Linked DNA regions of Homo sapiens: region 1 is linked to region 2. The links are contacts of gene promoters, found by promoter capture Hi-C in blood cells and fetal thymus (Javierre and others, 2016). All regions are on one chromosome and are shown on one strand. Each heading gives the region's core, a stretch centred on a gene start or on the middle of the fragment in contact. The rest is flanking DNA. Distances are from core to core; before and after follow the strand shown.

Region 1 (2,700 bases), core at 135-2,634, 320 kb after region 2:
CACACTGTGTGCTAGTTACTGTGCCAACAACTTTACATGAAAGATCTCATTTAATACGCAGAATAACTTATTTCAGAAATGAGGAAACTGAGACTTATGATCCTAATTTAGTATTAGGAAGTCAGAGAAGACCTGTGTGGGAAAAGTGACACACAGAGAACCAGACAAGTAGGAGATAACCAGGCAAAGAACAGAGAGAGGCTGTGTAAAGCAGAAGGAATAACATGCTCAAAGGCCTGAGGATGAATGAATGAAAGCATGGAAGGACACCAGTGGCTGAAATTGAGTGAGCAAGGAAAGAGTGCAAGAGATAGGGCAGGTAGGGGCTAAATCGAGGGGGTTGTTAGAGTCCAGGATAAGGAGATTAGATTTCATTCTGAGGCATGAGAAACTGTTGGAGGGTTTTACCTAAGAGTGGGACACAACCTGAGTTGCTTTCCTAGAGATCACTCTGCTTTGTGGAGAATGGATTGGCAGGGGCAGAGGCTTACTGTGATCCAGGTGAGAGAGGATGGAGGTTGGGACTACACTGGTGGCAATAAAAAAAATGCAAAAAAAAAAAAAAAAAAAGGCAGACAGATTTGAAGTTTTAGATATATCTCCAAAATATATTATTTGCAGCTGTGCTAGATATAGAAGATAAGTGTGAGGAAGAAATCAAGGGGGTTTCCACATTTCTTACTTGAGCAACAGGGTGGGTTGGAGTACTAGCTACTGAATGGTGAGGGAAAGGTTTTAAACACAGAAAGCTTGTGTTGCCTATGAAATTTAAAGTGGAGGTGGCAAATAGGCAGTTGAGAATCTGGAACTCAGAAAAGAGGTCTGATCAAGCAAAGCAACTGTGGGAATTGCTAGCATGGCATTTATATTTACAGTCATCTCTCTGATCAGATTAACTAGATATAGAGAAGAGTGCCAAGGACAGAGCCCTGAGGAATTCCCACATTTAGAGATCTGGTGTTGGAAGAGGAACAGATAGTGAGGGAAACTGAGATGGGCAGACGAGATAGAAGGAAAATCAGAGGAGTGTTTCGTTGTGGAAAGCTAAGAGAGGAAAGTGCTTCAGAGAGGAAGGAGTGATCAGCCAGTCTGAACACTCATTTTAAGGTGAGAGCCACATACCACAGTATGTTTGAAACTTACCATTAACAAAGAAGCGTCATGTAATGTCTTCCATCTCTAAAAACAAAACCAAAAAAAACCCATCTGTCCACCTCACTCACATCTCCCTCCATCTGTCATTCCTTTCCTCTGCATCCCTTAATGTTAAAAGTCCCCACGAAAGGACCCAGTGTCTCACTGTCCTTTTTCTATCTTTATTTCACTCCATTTAGGCTTTCTCACCCATATTCAACTGAAAATACTCTTGGAAAGGTCACCAGTAGCCACCGTCTTGTCAAATCTGGTTTCACTTCTCTGTCTCATCCTTCTTAAGTCTGTAGGCAGTATTTGATTGAATTGATTGCTCCCTCCTTGAAAAACTCTGCTCTTGGCTTCTATGACACTACATTCTTAGATTAACCTCTCACCTCATGGCTACTGCTTATGGGTCAGTTTAGCTTTTAACAGAATGTAAATCCAGTTATATATCTCCTCTGTTCAAAGCCCTTCGATGACATAGTGTTTCTCATCACACTCAGAATTAAATCCACAATCATTACAATGGACTCCCAAGTCCTAAGTCTGCTGGCTTTTGCCCACCTCTCTGGCATCTTATATTGAACTGGCCTTTGTGCTGTTTCTTGAACCTGCCAAGCTCCTGAGAGCTACCATGCTTGCTGTTCCCAGTGTCTAGAAAGCTCTTCACCCAGATCTTTGCGTGGTTCACTTCACGTTATTTAGAGCTCTGCTTGTATATTACTTCCTCAGAGAGACCTTCCCAGACCACTGTATCACTGCTCCCCAACCTGTCACTTTCTCTCTCCCCACCCTGCTTTTTATTCCTCATAGCACTTGTCCCTGTCTAAAATTAAGTATTGACTTGTTTATAAACAGTGTCTTCCTTCCTCCCCACAGAATGGAAGCTTTCTATCACTTGTCTCCTTGAACACTTCTCTGTTCCTAGTGTCTCAAACAATGGCATGCAATTGCTGGCCCACAGATATTTGAATGAATGCTGCTAAAAGGTTGAATCAGATGAGGATGGGAATGTTCCTGTTGGATTTGGCAATATGCCATTTGTTGGTGTTCTGGCTGAGCAGTTTAAACAGAGCACTGAGGGTGGGAGTCAGGGCAAATAGATTAAGGAGAACCTGAAGGTAAGGAATTAGACAAGACGAATTAGACAACTGTGTTTCGGAAAGTCAGCTGAGAAGAGAGACGCGAGGCTGGTGGTAGCTGGGGGAGGGTAAATGAGGTCAAGAAGACAAGTCTTTGAGTTGACAGCAGTGGATGTAATCCAGAGCACACATGACAGGATGGAAGAGACTTGTCTTCCCTTTTAGCAGGTAGGAAAATGGTGAAGATAGTTACCAAGCCACTCTGATGGTGTAGTTCATGGAGTCGGGTGGAGGGTGAGAGTGGAGGCGGATGAGTCAGTGCCTGGCCAGCTGCATGAGAAAACAAGGCTAGGTATTGGGTGAAAGGGAGCCAGGCCCTGTGGAATGAGGTGGGATTGCCATGTCTTCAAACCAGATGTTGCCATGGTTGGGGTCCTGGCAAAAGGTGACTAAGGGAGCAGGGTGTGGAAAGAGGAAAAAA
Region 2 (2,700 bases), core at 124-2,623:
GCTACTCAGGAGGCTGAGGCAGGAGAATCACTTGAACCCGGGAGGCAGAGGTTGCAGTGAGCTGAGATGGCAACATTGCACTCCAGCCTGGGCGACAGAGCGAGACTCTGTCTTAAAACAAAACAAACACAAAAATTAGCTGGGTGTGGTGGTGCACACCTGTAGTCGCAGCTACTCAGGAGGCTGAGGCAGGAGAATTGCTTGAACCAGGGACGGGGAGGTTGCAGTGAGCCGAGATCGCGCCACTGCACTCCAGCCTGGGCGACAGAGCAAGAAGAAACAAAGAGGAAGGAAGGGAGGGGAAAAAAAAAAAAAGAAAAGGGGCAGCTAAAAGTGGTATTCCAGAAATGCAATGAATAAGATTTGATGACAGTTGATGTAGCCTCAGGACAGACTCAGAACCCCTGGAACTTTTCTGCATAGACAGCTGACATGATCTCTCAACTCCTGGGCTCCCAATGGGAAGGAACAAATGTCCAAATACCAATGGTGGTTGCCCTGGAGTTAATATAATTGCATAGCATGTGGGGAGAAGGGCTTAATAAACATTTGGTCATTTGATTTTAAATGGCACATGGACAAGTGGCAAGAGGGCACACATACCAATGATGGCCACTTTGTTCTCCTTCATGGAACTCAGCACCTGCTCCAGCTTCTCCTCAGATGCCATATTCTGCACCTCACTCAGGTGGTGCTCCTGGAACTCCACTGGGACAGCGGCAGCCTTCAGAGACAGGTTCCCAAAACATCACAGTCAAGGCCAAGTCCTTTCCAACACACTACTGTCCTCTACTGTCTGATCCCCGAGGCCACTCACCTTGAACACCTCCTTGACGGCGTGCATCAGCTCAGGCCCCACACCGTCTCCCGGAAGCATGGTCACGGGAAAGGAGCCCTCCACCCTCACGTCCTCGGCCTCAATTGGGGGAAGAGGGGAGAAGTAAAGATAGAGCTGGGGCGGGAGCACGGATCCTGGGAGTAGAGAAGTAGGGAGACCCGGGAGGGGTGGGGAAAAGCCAGGGGAGGGAGCAGCGAGGAAGGGACAGGGTCGTAAGAGAGACCCCAGCCAGATTCGTGCATACCTGGCTCCGCGATGCAGCGTGCGCCGCGGCCGAGGTACTCAGACCTCTCCATGCCCCAGGGTTCCCGGCGGAGACCAGCGCCTGCAACAGGGACACACAAGCCTGTAAGGTCAGCTTTGAGACATCCAGACCCCGAACACTACAGTTGACTTTGCCCTGTTTAGGAAACCCTAGGACAAACTCTCCGCTCCTTCGCCCGCCCCTGCCCGACATGTCCCGGGGCCTCACTCGGGTCAGCCAGCGGACTCCGCTCAATGCCGCCATGTTTCCCGCAGGAAGTCGCGTGGGAAGTGACGCCTGAAGCTGGCGCGGCCCCGTACCCCGACTTCCGGCCTGTACTGAGTTCCTGGTATTTCTCTCTCTGCGCCAACCAGCACTGCTTGCTCACGCCTGTTTCTCCTTTTCCTTGCCGGTGGGGAGGTCATGGGATGCGCAAGCACTTTGTCTCTTGCTTTGTTTTCAGTCGCCATATTTAATCTACGTCGAAACTTCAAAATAACATTAGGGGGAAAAATGTAGCGTCATGTTTATCAGACGAGGACCTGAGCTTAACAAGCGATTGAGAGAAAATCCTTGGGAAGCTGTTAAAATTTGTGTGTCAATGCGTTTGTTATTCTTTTAACCAGTACTCACTGAATACCTGTATGTCAGGCTCTCGAGGAATACAGTACAGACATGGGAGGTGTGTGTCGGGTTTCTCCGCCAGTCTCCGAGAGTGCCCAGGACCTCTGTATTACCCGTCGCCTCGTAGTTTTTTCTTACAGGGTTTTGTTCTTTGCTCTGACAGTTATTTCCCTAATAGTGTGTCCCGGACTTGAACTCCCCAGGACAGGCCCATAACTAGTGTCAGAAATGAGTTCAAGCGTGTAAGTGTGACTAAAGGGAATTTCAGACTGATCCTTAAAGTAACAATCATAAAAACTAAAAAAAGCCTGGACAACATAGGGAGACCTCGACTCTACAAAAAATTTAAAAATTAGCCAGGCGTGGTGACACACCTGTAGTCCCAGCTACTTAGGAGGCTGAGGTGGGAGGATCACTTAAGCCCGGGAGGTGGAAGCCGTAGTGAGCCGTGATGGCACCACTGCACTCCAGCCTGGGAGACGGGGCGAGACCCGTCTCAAAACAATTACAGTCACGATTTTTTTTTTTTTTTTTTTGAGACAGAGTCTCGCTCTGTCGCCCAGGCTGGAGTGCGGTGGTGCGATCTCGGCTCACTGCAAGCTCCGCCTCCTGGGTTCACCCCATTCTCCTGCCTCAGCCTCCCGAGTAGCGCCCGCCATCACACCTGGCTAATTTTTTTTTTTTTTTTTTTTTTTTTTTGTATTTTTAGTGGAGACGGGGTTTCACCGTGGTCTCGATCTCCTGACGTCGTGATCCGCCCGCCTCGGCCTCCCAAAGTGCTGGGATTACAGGCGTGAGCCACCAAGCCCGGCCTCCAGTCACGATTTTAGGTGTGTACAATTGACACACCTAAAGACAAACTGGTACAGGAAGATTTGCCTCACCCGCTCTTCTGGAAGTATGGTTTTGGATCACCTATCCAGATGGACCAGAGCTCTTGTTAAAAGTGCAGGCTTGTGAGTCATACTTCATTTGCTGAATCCAAATCTCAGTG

The links. The method cuts DNA at HindIII sites, captures the fragments that hold promoters and counts their contacts. A CHiCAGO score of 5 or more calls a contact.
Region 1: a fragment that was not itself captured here is called in contact with the fragment with the promoter of IDH3B in region 2 in 4 of 17 cell types (naive CD4 T cells, total CD8 T cells, total CD4 T cells and 1 more); the score reaches 5.7 in naive CD4 T cells.

What each region holds. Positions count from the first base shown.
Region 1 is chr20:2,983,018-2,985,717 of GRCh38, forward strand. All of the region lies in intron 6 of PTPRA (protein tyrosine phosphatase receptor type A), which reads left to right. Among named protein-coding and RNA genes, the nearest start is that of GNRH2, 59 kb to the right of the region's middle. The HindIII fragment of the contact is 1,275 bases long and covers 748-2,022 here.
Region 2 is chr20:2,662,843-2,665,542 of GRCh38, forward strand. It overlaps IDH3B (isocitrate dehydrogenase (NAD(+)) 3 non-catalytic subunit beta), which reads right to left and starts at 1,374. Exons shown (of 12, transcript NM_006899.5): 1 at 1,311-1,374; 2 at 1,083-1,163; 3 at 818-916; 4 at 604-724. The coding sequence starts at 1,346. It overlaps IDH3B-DT (IDH3B divergent transcript), which reads left to right and starts at 1,432. Exons shown (of 3, transcript NR_186432.1): 1 at 1,432-1,764; 2 at 2,416-2,662. RefSeq lists enhancers at 1-438, 2,012-2,700. The HindIII fragment of the contact is 11,157 bases long and covers 1-2,700 here.